Linked DNA regions of Homo sapiens: regions 2, 3 and 4 are each linked to region 1. The links are contacts of gene promoters, found by promoter capture Hi-C in blood cells and fetal thymus (Javierre and others, 2016). All regions are on one chromosome and are shown on one strand. The core of a region is centred on a gene start or on the middle of the fragment in contact, and the rest is flanking DNA. Distances in the headings are between cores, read along the strand shown. Region 1 holds the start of TRMT11 (tRNA methyltransferase 11). Region 2 overlaps RSPO3 (R-spondin 3). Region 3 overlaps RSPO3 (R-spondin 3). Region 4 overlaps LOC105377989 (a long non-coding RNA gene).

Region 1 (3,493 bases), core at 491-2,990:
TTTAGTCCTGAACTGTAGCACAAAGGAGCTGGGTGAAAAATCAGTGACACCTGATTCCATTTGGGTTCTCCAGGCCTTGTAGTCTCATTTGTCTCTATATAGCATCATATTAATCCAGGCATGAAAATCAGCAATTCTTTGATATTCTCTATAAAGTTGCCCCATCAAAATTCCATATTAATTTTGCTGAAGATTTGACAAGTTCTGGGGATGGGGCATATCAAGTACTGCACATCATTTCCCCAACATCTCATTGGTTTTCTGTCCCAACCTTGGCCTCTCTTCTCAAATAGTAAACAACTTTTCTTGTCTCAAAGTACTTTTACCCCCTTTTCTGAAGTTTTGGGGTCAAGAGACAGCTATGCTTCTCAGAGTCACTTAGCACAAGTGAACTTGAGACATATTCCTAACAAAAACAGATCTCTTGCTAACAAAAATTCTCATGTGATTTTCTTAAGAAAAATGTCAAGTGCCACTTATTGGCCCCATTCAATATGCCAGATGTTATATTCAACACTTTATGAACATTATTCCACTTAATCCTTGTAACAATCCTTTGCAGGAGGCAGTGTGTTTTTCCATTTTTAAAAGAAAACTCAAGCTCGGAGAGGTTAAGAGCATATACATGGTAAATGGTGGAAGTGAGGTTTGAATCTAATATTGACACCACAGCCTATGTTCTTAATCACTACCACTGCGCATCAACTACGTTTCTGGCACATGCCGCTGGGGATATGCCAGATACATACTCTTTTGCACCTTGTACAATACCACAGAGAAATGCAAAATAAATAATTTTTAATAGGGCAAAGGGCTCGGTACTCTCAAAAGCAGAAATAGCCCAGAGGGAGGGCTTGAGCCCGTAATTCTAGCACTTTGGGAGACTAGGGTAGGAGTATCCCCTGAGACCAGGAGTTCAAGGTTACAGTGAGCTATGATTGCGCCACTGCACTCACCTGGGTGACAGAGCAAGATTGTCTTAAAAAAAAAAAGTCACATATATACATAGAATATGCAATTAAAATATATTTCATAAACTATCTGCTATGAAATCTGTGCCAGTGTGAGCTTTCTCCAAGTTTTAATTTATGGCTGGCTGTGGATTTAGTCCTGAGTCTAACAAATAACACAACCTAATAATTATTGCCTACTTTGAGGAAGATATTCTTTTGGTTTTTGTTAAGAATAGAGTGAACCATAAAAGATTATATCAGACCTCAAGAGTTTATTATAATTGGGTTATAAGGCATGTGCTCTCGAAAAGTTGTTACATAAATACGAAAAATATACTGTTAAATGACTGGCCCAACTAAATCAGTTCCCAAAGCTGTGCTGGTTAGACAAACCTACAAGGAAATGGTGAAATTTCCAAGGAAATGGTGAAATTTCAGTCCAATTTTGAAGAACAGGTTTTGAAGGGCTGTAGAGAAAGCTGGAAGCACACTCCAAGTGGAACGATAACTTGGAAATATACTGTCTTATTATCACAGGCTGCTCCTGAAAGCCACGCGTCCCCGCTCACCAGCTACCAGCGCTGGGAGACCCCTAACCACCAGGCATTCACAGGTGAGGAAGCCCCTCCCACAGCGGCCGGAGTTTCGGACTCGGAGCGCGAGAAACGTCGGGATAGCGCCTGCCTCGCAGAGCTTCCGCTTCCGGCCCTTCAGGCTCTGTCTCTGTGGAGACTGGGCTTTGGGAGGGAGAAAGAGGGACCTAGCGCGGGCCGCGCAGGCGCACGGTGGGCAGCTGCAATGGCGCTGTCGTGTACCCTTAACAGGTATCTGCTCCTCATGGCGCAGGAGCATCTGGAGTTCCGCCTGCCGGTGAGTCCGTAGCGCCCTCCGGAACTTCCGACGGAAGAGGACGCTGGAGTGGAGTGGAGTGGGTGGAGGTGATCTGCATAGCCCGAGGAAGCTGGGATTCGGGGGTCTTCGCTGGTCTGCGCGGGTCACGCGTCCCCAGTCCTCGGGCGGGGTGAGCTTGGCGGAGGGTGTGTGTGAGAGAAGTCCGAGACCAAACCCCTCGGCCTGCTTAAACTTTTCATTCTTTTGCCCGTGTATCAAGTACCGGAGTTAGGCAGGTGAATATGACCGGTCATCTCACTCCCGGAGCTCTTCGTCTAGCGGAGAATAGAGACAGCTAACAAATGCTCAGGCTGGTGTTTGAAGTATTGGAATCTGCGGATCAAGCTCAGTGGAGGGGATGGTGGTGGGGATTAGATGATGGAGAAGTTGAGAAGAGTGTTTTATTTATTCAAGAAACGTTTTCAGAATGCATGTAGTCGAAGATCGGTACGCTGGGCATGTAACGATGATGTAAGCAATCTCTGCCCTCTAGGAGCTTACTGTTTAGAGTAAGGGCTGAGCAGACACATAGGCGTAGAATGACAAAAGAGCGTCGGTAAGTGCAGTGATAGATGCACATGGAAATATGAGAGCACGTGGAAGGGAAATCTAATCTACCTGAGGGGTTGGGGATGTTGGCCTTTAAGAGGGCTTCCAGAGGAGATGACACTTGAAATAAAGGATGAATAGGAGTTAGAGGGCCAAGGAGATAAATCAGTAAATTAGAATTACAAGGTGTTCATTATTACTGGATCACTAGTTATGTGGCAGAGTGGTAAGAAGAGAGCAAGGGAAGTAGATCGAGGCCAGAAAATGAAAACCTTGAGTACCCTGGAGCTTGGAAGGGGGATTTATTGAAAAGCCTTAAGTAAAAAAGTGACCACAAAATTAAATCAGTTTGACAACACTATGGAGGATGGATTTGAAAAGAATAAGACTTGAGCCAGAGACTAGGAGTCTGTGGGAATAGTCTTGTTAATAGATTAAGAAGGTCTGACCTAGGGCAAGGAGTAAGAGGATGGGATAGACTGGGAAAATATTTAGGCCATACAGTCATTAAGGCTGGATTGATTGAATATGTGGGAAAGGGGCACCAGTCAGGTATGACTCCTGGGGTGTATATAGGTAGGAGTGTCTCCATTTAAAATAGAGAACATAGGCAGATGTAAGATTTAAATTTTGTTTACACTGAATTTGATGTGGTTGTGTAACATCAACCTGAGATGACCAAGAGGCGGTGGATATATGAATATGCATAGAGTATGGCAGAGTGATCTGGACTAGTGATAAATATTTGGGAGTCTTCTTCATATGAAAACTAGGAGCGGGGAAGAAATTACTCAAAGGATAAGGTCAAAAGAGTAGCGGGCCAAGTATAGATGCTTGGAAGCATTGATATTAAGGGAAAGTCGGAGGAGGCCATGAAGAAGATGGGCAAGTGCCAGAAGGATGTGAGACCGCAGAAATCAGAAGGGTAAAGTTTTAGGAAGCAGGGACAAATGGATAAATGTCGAATGCAGTTGCTTTTTAGTGAGAAAAGAATGAAAAAGTGTCATTGATAGTCTCAATTAGAAGATAATTAATTGGTGATTTTTGCTAAAGCGAATATGTTGAGTTTTAGTAGGAGAAGCCAGGTGGCTTGGTTTAGT
Region 2 (3,493 bases), core at 340-2,839, 1.2 Mb after region 1:
ATCTAGATCTATTTTATACTTCCAATCTTCTTGTTATTCCTTATATCTTCATTCCCCACTACTTATGCACCAGTTGCATCAAACTCATGCCAGTCTCCTTCCCAGCTTGGGTCACTGTAGTGTTTCCTTCTCTAGCCAAACATGGCCACTTACATACTCATAAACTCCAACTCATTTTCTAAGATTAAGTTCAAACACTGAGATTCTGTGAAACTTTCCCTACCTCTCCACCAACAACTTCAAATAATAGTAGGAAAATATTGTTTGAAAAAGGTGATTTAGAAATTCAAAATGAAGTTAATATTGAATGGGGAATAAAAAGAAAGACACATGAGAAAGTAAAATTCTATTTTCTGTCTCAGAATCACAAGATTTTATGGCTGAAAGTGTTGTTACAGTCAATATAGACCAAAGTTTTTTGTGGTTTCCATATAAAAAGTAAAATCTCTTGCCTTAAAATGAAGTTTGGGAAATTTGTACTTAGTTGTGTAATACTGACTGTGTAATTTGTATGATCCTTATACGGCATTCAAGAAAGCTGTCACTACACTACATAACCATAAAAAAAATCTAGACTCATTGAATCTGAGCTTCATAGTCTTCATTTCTCTCTCTTCCCACAGCCAGCATTTAAACCTTCCTGAAGAAATAAGGTTTGCCATCATTTGATATTCAAAATTCATTGCCATATTCAAAATTCACTGATTAAAACATAAAATTTTATTGCAAGTTGGGACAACTAGGTCTTTCTTGCTTTTTCAAAAATCAAATTTTTAAAAACCCTTGCCTAGGAAGTCATTATATGAAAAAAAAAAGGTAAAAAGAATTATTGTAGCACAATGTTGACTGTGCTCCATTTCATCAGTAAAAGTTTTAGAGACAGAGGGAATCAAGCAAGGTATTTTGGCACATCTCATAATTTCAGTGGATACAGTTACAATCATGAGACTTATTCAAAGCTCTCTCCTGAAGAACATTCCAAACATTCAAAACCTAGTTTTTAAAATAAAATTTATCTTAAGGAATGTCAGTTTTTGAAGCTCTGAATATGTAAATCATGTTTATATTAATAATTGATATATTTAAAATTATATCATAATTGGCAAAAGTTTCAGAATACATAAAATTAGAATTTTGTGTTTTCTTTCAGCAGCCACATTTCAGAGATAGGGATGGATTGGCATGGACCAATATGGTCCATCTTTCTTAAACCCAGAGTCTCTTAGTGCCCTGAGTTTGAAGCACTTTTCTTTCAAGTTGAGGTCCACTCTTCTATAGACAATTCTATGAAAAGGTCTTACAAGTTTTTATCTACACCTCTCGCTTCTTGAAATGGATAATGATAGATTCCAAACACATGGAAATCTCTTGCCCCTTTTACTTTTTAGGATCTTTGCAAGCTTACAATATGTACACGTTTTCTGTAAGTCACCAATGCTGAGTTACTGGCATGAAAAATGACCCTGTTACTTGGAAAGTAGTTTCACTTACAAGTCCCCCAGGCCCTGTAATGTCTAAACCTCCTGTGCCACTTTATGTGACTACCCCGCCCCCACAGAGGAGCATGCACAGGAAAAGCAGACTTCCCTTCCCCCACACATTTCCTTAGTTTATTTACAAAACGTCTTGGAATGAGAATGAGCTGCTTGTGGTTCCTGTGGCTGATTCAGGGATGGTTTCCTACAGGCAGAGGATGCTGGTCAACCGAATGACCTCTCTGTAACTAACCCGTGCACCCCTGTGGTAAGGCTGTTTGGTCTTATAGGTACCTCTTCTAACTAAGCTTGGAGGGATTTGTTTTTGTGGTAAAGAACTTAGTAATAACCAAACGTCACTGTAAAGACAGATTTAATAATGTTAAGGTCCATCAGAGCCTACTCCTTCTACTACCAACAAGAGAAGCCAGAAATACACTGGGATGCCTTTAGATTCCTGTGCATCAATCTTTCTTTCTCTAAGGATTATGGTTTTTTTTTCTTCTGGCATCTTCAAAGGACAATAAAGCTATTAGCAATATATTTGAGTGGAGAACACATTAGGAAAAGAAATCATCCTAAACACCAGCTATATGAGAAACATCCGTTAGTCAGTAGTTTTTACCAGCTCATGCAGAGGTGATGATGACTATTTAATAGTCAAAAGAAGATTTAAAGTTGTGATGATCTTAAGCAAACATGAGTCTCCCAAATATTCATTTCTGTTTGTTCAGACTTGCTAATGAACACTCTTAACTCACACACTGGTAACTCTTGGAAACCCTGGAATATGTGTAACAGTGATTCTTAAGGTAGACTGGTCCATTCTCACCAAATATACATTTCACTCGAGTAAGTAGAAGATAAGGGCACAGAAACTGTAAGACTCCAGTTCCAAAAGAGAAAATATTGAACATAAATTACCATAAGTAGTCATATATGATCCACATGGAAACACTGGTGAGATAAGCATCACATTTTCACCATTATATCTATTTGAACTGGCAATTATTAAGCTCGTGTGAGAAGAAATATTTAATGAAGGAATTCTGGGGAGCTCAACAGCTAACATAGCTTCAGCATCAGTTTGCATTGGATCAAAAAGTAAAATTGTGTTCTCTAATACACCATAGTTCAAAACAGATATAAAACTTAGTGTCCTTACTCAAGTTAAGCCCTAATGTACATTATTTTACTTACTGAAGAAATTAGAAACATATGCTTATCCTCCATTACATAAATGAAAAGCAAAGCAAATGTGTATTAATTTCACTGTGTAAATGAGCACAAAATTACCAGTCCCCAATCTCCCAGGGTGCTAGTTCAGTGAGGATATTATATATATGAAGAGAATATATATAATTAGTTATACATAATTTAAAAATATATATTATATGATAAAGAGACTATGTATACACACACATATATAAGTCCTTTGAGGCAGTATATTCTTTATTTTTCAAATGCTCAATTTTAAGAACTTTGAAATTAAAAACAATACATGTGCTAAAGGGAAATAAAAGATCATAAAAAAAGATAGGAAAAAAAATCCCACCTCATTCACCCATTACCAACAAATTGAAAGCTAATGAAAGAGAACATATATCCTGCCCAGAAAATGTCATTTTTTTATCTGTGATTTAACCTTTGTAATGTCTTTCTACATTTGTCTCCACAGTGCATCCTAACGTTAGTCAAGGCTGCCAAGGAGGCTGTGCAACATGCTCAGATTACAATGGATGTTTGTCATGTAAGCCCAGACTATTTTTTGCTCTGGAAAGAATTGGCATGAAGCAGATTGGAGTATGTCTCTCTTCATGTCCAAGTGGATATTATGGAACTCGATATCCAGATATAAATAAGTGTACAAGTAAGTGCCCACACGAAATTGTATTTTTATCTCATCTTTGGTGACTTTTCCAGATTGAAATGGCCTCTAATATATTTGTGATATTCAATGTTAAGTAAATGATAATGTTTATCTGATAATTAGGCTAAACCATACTTGGACTTAACCC
Region 3 (3,493 bases), core at 726-3,225, 1.1 Mb after region 1:
AATACCTGAATTCTTTTCACATTTGAACTGTTTGAATAATTTTTAAATTTTATTTTTAAAAAACAGGGTTGCAGGTGCCTCTTATCTGATAAGAGCATTTCTGCTTTATTTGTCACTTGGCAAGGGACCTAGGTGCTATCTGCTGTAGCTAAAATTTTTCTTGAATTTTTTTAGAGAAAATTCATTGGTACTAAAGAATATGATTGTCCAATTAAATAAATATTTAATGGCTTTTAACTGTCCTTATGTTTTATGCAAACATCTAATCTACTCTTCAAAACACCGCCTTATTAATGTTTCATCTGACCTTTAGAATTTAATTAATTGCAAGTATCATAAGTTTGTGGTAGAATCTGAGACCTGAGAAAGAAGGCTCCTTAGTGTATGTTGGGAGAAGGTAGACTCAGAAGTTAAAGACCTGGGTTCCAGATCCAGCATTGCTGCTAATGCCTGAATAACCCAAGAAAGTCCTTTTACTATACCAAGCTAAAGTTTTTCATCTGCAAAATGAGGAGGTTGATCAAAAACTTAGATCTAGTGATCCCTACGGTTTCCTCAACATTTAATCTTTTGGTATGAGAATATAAGTCACAACTAGGGAGTTAAATAATAACTTGTCTTATTCAACTAAATTTAACAGATAAAGATTGAGTACAAACAAACATAAACATTCATTGATTATAAGTAAATTTATCACATAAAGGTTAACGAGTAAGTGATCAATGTGGATAATGAATTAATTATGATATACCTCATAATTCACATTTTTTATTGTCTGAAAACCATAGTCACAGCAACAATCAGCATACTCAGTCTACCCCATCTTGTCCTTAGGCTCAGGGTTAGGGAGCTGGATCAGAATACTGACTCAAGGGTCACTTCAGAGCTTCCCTAGCATGGCAGGCTTTCAGAGGTGGCCTGTAATTATGAGGAAGAGATGATTTACAATAGTCCAGGTTTAAGAAAATAAGGCCCTAGGCTACAACAGTGAATGACTGCACAAAAGAGTATATACAGCAGATAATTTCTTTTAATCAAATCAGTAGTTCTTGGCAATTAATTGCATATGAAAGGGAAAGAGATGGAGGCCCATATTTGGCAATAAACTTTGGAGTATAAGGACTCAGGTCTGGGTGAATGGAAAAATGATGACGATCAACAAAAAGAAAAATAGGAGAAGCAGGTCTTGTTGGAAATCTGTTTCTCTTTTGAGGAGCCAGTAGGACGTTTAGGAACTCAAAACTCAAAACACCTGGGATTAGAGTATTAGGGCTGAACACAAGTACTTCAGAGTCACTCACATAAAAATGATGTTTATTATTATCAAAAGTGTGTGCTCTCCTACTGATACGGGGGTGTAAAAAATGTGTGCTGTGATGACATTGAGACTCACTCTTCTTGGTAATGTCAAAATAACATTAATTACATTAAGGTACCTTGTCTATTTTAAGTAGTTTAATATATCATTTTCAACTGTGGTTTTTTATGGTTTTTATAATACTCTCTGTGTTACATAAGAGGATGGTCACTGGTATCATAAGCTGTAGTTGTTGTTGCCAAATCTTGCAGCTGAAAATTGCACTTAGAAGTCTTCTTACCTGTGGAACTTTGCCACAGATCATAAGGAGACCTGAAAAACTATGATAATGAAAGGCAAGTTTACATAAGGTATAAAAATAAAATTTTGAACCATTGAATTGGGTGCAGTATCTGTTCATCACTGTAGCGTTCTACTTTTAAGTAGATTTCTCTACAAAGTATGCTCTCTTAATATAAGAGAATCTCTGGAAGGGATAAAACTTGAAAGAATCCAGTCCATCTACACAGTGTGGGATCACTTCTACAACATCCCCACTGAGTAACTGTCTAGCCTCAGTAACAGTCAGCCCCCTAAGCTCTCCCCCTTTTTCCTCCTATTTTTAGGGCTTCTGTATCCAAAGCAGTTTATTCTCCTAGTCCTCTTCTTTGCACTTGGCATGGGCATGGTATTAGATCTAGTTACCTTAAAACACCTTTCTAAAATGAACACACAGTAACGCAATGTGCTACATTCACTCCCAAAAATTGTCCTTAGAAAACTAGCTGGTAAGCATATTTATAATTATACCCCAATACAAAGCACATTCCTGACAGTAAGTGGTAAAGCAGCCCCCATTTTATAACCACATAATACAAACCACTACCACACAATATAAAATAACAGAATTTGTGAGCTGCTTATTTTAGAACACTGTTTTCTTAACATATGCTCGATAAGTTGGTAAGAAAAACAGCAGTCCTTTCTCATTGTTTTTTGTTCCCCTGTTCTACAAAGAGACTTCAAAGGTAAGAACACTGTCATCTCAACAAAGGCTGTCATATATGCAAAGCAAATATCAATCACATTTTGCCAACAAGAAATAATATGCCAAAGTATGTGTAAGTGCTACATGGCAAACAACAGCTTTTTAGCTCTCAGAGCCACTGTTATATTTATGTACATCTTATCTAAATATGCATGTATACTTACTAAAGTGAGTATTATGATAATAGTTATTACTCAATAGCTCCCATGTTATAATCACCAGTAAGTGCCAGACCCTTTGCTTGATGCTTTTGCAAAAATTATCTCATTTGATCTTCATACCCACCTGTAAGGAATGTGCCAATAGTCCCACTTTCATTGATCACTCAAGGAATTGAGGTGGACCTCAGATTCCAGTCTAGGCTAGACTCCAAAGCCAAGGTCCTTCTTTGATTCTTCACTCCACCTTAACATTAGGGTTGGTACTTGAGGCAATCATGGTGCATTTTCTAAATTCCACCCACTCTTTCTTTCTCTTACTCTCTCTTCTTTCCTCCTTCTTTCTTTATCCTCATTTAACAAACCATAAGCCTTTTTTCAAACATTTACTATAAAGGTTGCTTCTGGTATTCAAGTACCCTCCTCTACATCGCTTTCTTTTCCTTACCCTTTGTCCTCTCTTTCCTTAAACCTGTCTTATTGATGAGTTTTAAACATAAAAGTTTGCTGATTTTTTCATTAAAAGCAATAGGATTGCACAGTTTATATGAAAGACTCTGTGATTGTTATTTCCATCTATGGTGCGCGTAACCAAGAAAAGATTAATGTAGGCATGAGAATGTTAGAAAAGTCTGTAATTTTGCAGTTAAAAATCAGAATCCTTCTATGTAATTTACAACCACAATAGATATTTTACTGGCTATTGTTATCCAGAAAAAGTTATCTTTATGGCACTTCATAAAGTCTGTTATTTATATTACTTTTACCATGAGCATTAACAGTAACCTCCACTCTGAATTCTTGCTTTATGGGTCTTGGTACAATAATTTTCCGCCCTGAGGTCACATTAGAATTTCCTGGGGATCTTTAAAAAGATACTAATGCCCAGACTCCACCCTTGAACAAATAAAACTATCTTCTCCACCCTTGAACAAATAACACAATCTTTGGGGATGGTACCTGAATATCTACATTGTTTAAAGTAGTTCT
Region 4 (3,493 bases), core at 347-2,846, 1.1 Mb after region 1:
GAGCACTTTTCACCCATACTTGACAGTTGTGCAAGATGTCTCTGGCCCCTGGCAGATCTGCCTTTGAACAATTACATTAGTTTCTACCAGCACAGGGGTGATTTTAGTTCATCTTCTACCTTTGATTATTAGTTCTCTGTGAACACTTTACACAAGGCCCTAAAGGTGCATAATAATTCTACTCCTTCTATGAATGATCAATTGTCAAGAGTAGACTAGAGTCTGATTTCTTTGCCCAACACTCCCACTCTTTCCTCCAGTTCCAGAAAGGTTCTTCACTTCCTCTTCCTTCTGACAAGGACACTTTTTACAGTCCTGATTCCTCACTACACTGTGGCTTTCAGTGAAACTGCATATTTGGAACCAAAACTTTGCTGGTATATATAAAGGAAACTTGGAGTTTAGAAATCTCTTTCTCTCAGCAAATCCATGGCAAGACTAACTACTGGGGATTCAAGGAAGGCAGCTCTGAGACTCAAAGCACAATAGTGAAATTGTGGTCTAGGAGTTATCTCCCCTTACCCCAAACAATGAATGACCTTGATTCAATAGGTAGAGAATAACTGTAAGGCAACATAATTTTCAGTGAATGAAAAATATGTCCACTTAACATTTTAAAAACGAACACCTGCAAATTAATCAATCTAGAATATTAAACTTCAGGGCTATATATTAAATAAAACATTTTTATTAGGTGGTTACTCTTTTAAAAAGAAGGTAACATAAGTACTAGTATCCAATCAAACGTGTCTATGTTGTCACTGAAGTTTCTCTCAAAGAGGCATTTAGAAGATGGTCATGCAGAGAAAATACTTTCATACAGTCCTCACTAACAGGTATGCGTATAGGAGCAATTTTGAAAACAGTTAATTTTTCAAAGAAAATGAGTAAAAAGAAACTATATGCATTTTGCCCCACATCCTTGCATTCCATAATATATACTCACCCACTTTCCATCTTTGGGGCATGTTCTGGGTAATTTTTCTTCCTTCCTATCTCATGTCAAATATCAGGTGAATTTATGTCATTGTTTTGAGAACAATTTATGTATAATATTTTATGCAATCTCCTCCTATGTTTAGGAGGTTGCCATAATGTGTCAAATGTAGATTTTTCTTAATACTTCATAAAACTATCTCTAGAAAACTAAGTGCATCCTTTTACTAAGTTCATCCCTAGCACACTCACACAGCTCCTTTTGCTGCTGCTTTTTCTTGCAGCTTCTGCTTCTGCACTCACTTTTCCACCTCCCTTAGTTACTCGGTGTCCTTATCAGACACAGGTCTCCCTCATACTCACACTTCATAATGCCCCTGAACAGGTCAGACCCTCTCTCCTTGTCAAATTTCAGAGATGTGTTCAGAAGGAAACAATCTAACTAAAATAATTCACCCATTCTTAACTTTCTTGGGAATATTTGCATTTAAAATAAATTTCTAATTGTGATGATTTCAAGTAGTATACATAACGATGTGAATAATTTTAACAATGCTAAAAAATAAGTAGAGGAAAAATACAAATGTACATGAACAGAGGGAAAGCAAGCTACACATACAAACATAATTATTTGAAGAAGAAATCCTCAAGGCATTAGTTGTCTATTAGAAACCAGGCTGTCCTTGAATATCTAGTATACCAGTTCTTTTGGGCTGCCACAACAAAATACTTTAGATTGAGTAATTTATAAAACAACATAAATGTATTTGTTACAGTTCTGGAGGCTGGGAAGTCCAAGATCAAGGTGTCAGCAGAGTCATTGTCTGCTGAGAGCTTGCTCTCTGCTTCAAAGATGGCACCTCCTTGCTATGTCTTCACATGGAACAATGGGCAAAGGGAGCTTCCTGGAGCCACTTTTATAAGGGCATGAATCCAATTTATAAGAGTGGAGCCTTCATTACTTAATCACCTCCCCAAAGGCCCTACCTCTAAAAAATACAATCACATTAGAGATTAAGTTTCAATATATAAATTTGGCAGAGAGCACATTCGAACCATAGTACAGTGTATTTTTTTAAAAACACAAAAGACACCATATTGTATATAACTTACAATGTTACTTTAAAAAAGTATTGATTCTTATGATCATAATGGTGAAAATTCACCAAAAACTCATGAAAACCCAATATATCATTCCTAACTAAATCAGAGAATCAAGTCACAATGAGGAAATAAATCCATTAGTTAAATTGCCTCCTTTCCTAAACACTTAAGGTAAATCTATGTTGTAGGGCAAAATGATTGTACCTCATGTCATTAAATCTCAGAATTATGGAATTTAATGAGATAGTGCTTCATGTTTCTATGCACTAAAATGATAAGTTCTGCTGCCATTTTTAGTAGACAAAAGGAAGGCCTCCTGGTAAGGAGGCATTTTCACAGGATTCTTTTCAATGAGAAGATGTCTATATTATATTCACAAACCTTAAGTAATACTATCCTAGCTCTTAAGACAAGAGAAAAGGGAAGGAAATAACAGGCTGAAGAAAAACACTTGTGACTTCCCCCAAAATGAGAACATTGAAAAGATTTTTCTCTGAGTTCCAAACCATAATTGCTTCTTATTTATGTACCCAAAGCTGAAAATTTGTCCCACCAATGGCCTGGACCTTTGTACTGCTTTGATTTTGTGAGGCTTCAAGTATAGAATTAAAACTCAATTCAGAGAAAGAACTGATCTAGAACCAGACACTCTGTATAGGTGGTCAGATAGGGTATATGGTAAACCTCAGTTTTGCTTTCTTGCTTCAATTAGGTATCAACTTTCTGACTGGCCAAAGAGCTCCACATTTGGCTTTATACAGAGGTTAATAACCTGCCCATTAGCTCTGGGGTGGATTTAAAATAGCCTACAATTCTTTGCAGTTCCTCCTATCAAAAGATAAAGTCTATTGGGTAAATTCTGGAATCTAGGCTGGTCTTTTGACTTGCTTTGGTCAAAAAACTGCAGTAGAAGTGACGCTTGTAGGGCTTCCAAGGGGCCTTGCAACTTCCTCTCTCACACTTCTGGAACCCAGAGAGCTCCACGCTCTTGAGATGTAATACTACCTGGGAAGAGAGGCCTGCTATCTCTGCTGTGTCAGCTGACCTGACAGCTGGATGTAGCATATGAGAGAGCCCAGGAGAGACCAGCAGGAGAGTCAGTCAACACACAAAATTGTGAGAAGCCATAAATAGTTGATAGTTTAAGCCACTAAGTTTAGAAGTGGTTCATTATACAGCAATACGTAACTGATACAAGCTCCATGGAAAGAAAGTCCTTTGTTCTCCTCTATCTTCTTGCAGAATACTTCTCAGTGAGGCAATCTTATCTACAAATATAGAATACCACCTGCCAAATTGGAAAAATATCATGACCACCAGGCACCTGGAGCTTTTTCATAATGGCTTGAAACCGCCTACACCTGTGACATACCCCACAGGCCAAAGTGAAATCAAAATATGTTTCTGGGAAGAAAAGATTATATGGGGTGAAGAGAAGGAGAGAAGGGCAGAG

Evidence for each region. The method cuts DNA at HindIII sites, captures the fragments that hold promoters and counts their contacts. A CHiCAGO score of 5 or more calls a contact.
Region 2: a fragment that was not itself captured here is called in contact with the fragment with the promoter of TRMT11 in region 1 in 1 of 17 cell types (endothelial precursors); the score reaches 5.1 in endothelial precursors.
Region 3: a fragment that was not itself captured here is called in contact with the fragment with the promoter of TRMT11 in region 1 in 8 of 17 cell types (monocytes, megakaryocytes, M1 macrophages and 5 more); the score reaches 10.3 in monocytes.
Region 4: a contact is called between a fragment that was not itself captured here and the fragment with the promoter of TRMT11 in region 1, in 4 of 17 cell types (M2 macrophages, M1 macrophages, M0 macrophages and 1 more). The highest score is 11.5, in M2 macrophages.

Annotation. Positions count from the first base shown.
Region 1 is chr6:125,984,800-125,988,292 of GRCh38, forward strand. TRMT11 (tRNA methyltransferase 11) reads left to right here and starts at 1,741. Exons shown (of 13, transcript NM_001031712.3): 1 at 1,741-1,823. The coding sequence starts at 1,752. RefSeq lists enhancers at 964-1,794, 1,772-2,261, 1,795-2,624. The HindIII fragment of the contact is 7,229 bases long and covers 1-3,493 here.
Region 2 is chr6:127,145,495-127,148,987 of GRCh38, forward strand. It overlaps RSPO3 (R-spondin 3), which reads left to right. Exons shown (of 5, transcript NM_032784.5): 2 at 3,154-3,345. The region is part of intron 3 of LOC105377989 (a long non-coding RNA gene); the gene reads right to left. Among named protein-coding and RNA genes, the nearest start is that of RSPO3, 29 kb to the left of the region's middle. The HindIII fragment of the contact is 383 bases long and covers 1,399-1,781 here.
Region 3 is chr6:127,124,974-127,128,466 of GRCh38, forward strand. The region is part of intron 1 of RSPO3 (R-spondin 3); the gene reads left to right. All of the region lies in intron 3 of LOC105377989 (a long non-coding RNA gene), which reads right to left. Among named protein-coding and RNA genes, the nearest start is that of RSPO3, 8.0 kb to the left of the region's middle. The HindIII fragment of the contact is 6,341 bases long and covers 1-3,493 here.
Region 4 is chr6:127,107,836-127,111,328 of GRCh38, forward strand. All of the region lies in intron 4 of LOC105377989 (a long non-coding RNA gene), which reads right to left. Among named protein-coding and RNA genes, the nearest start is that of RSPO3, 9.1 kb to the right of the region's middle. The HindIII fragment of the contact is 5,877 bases long and covers 1-3,493 here.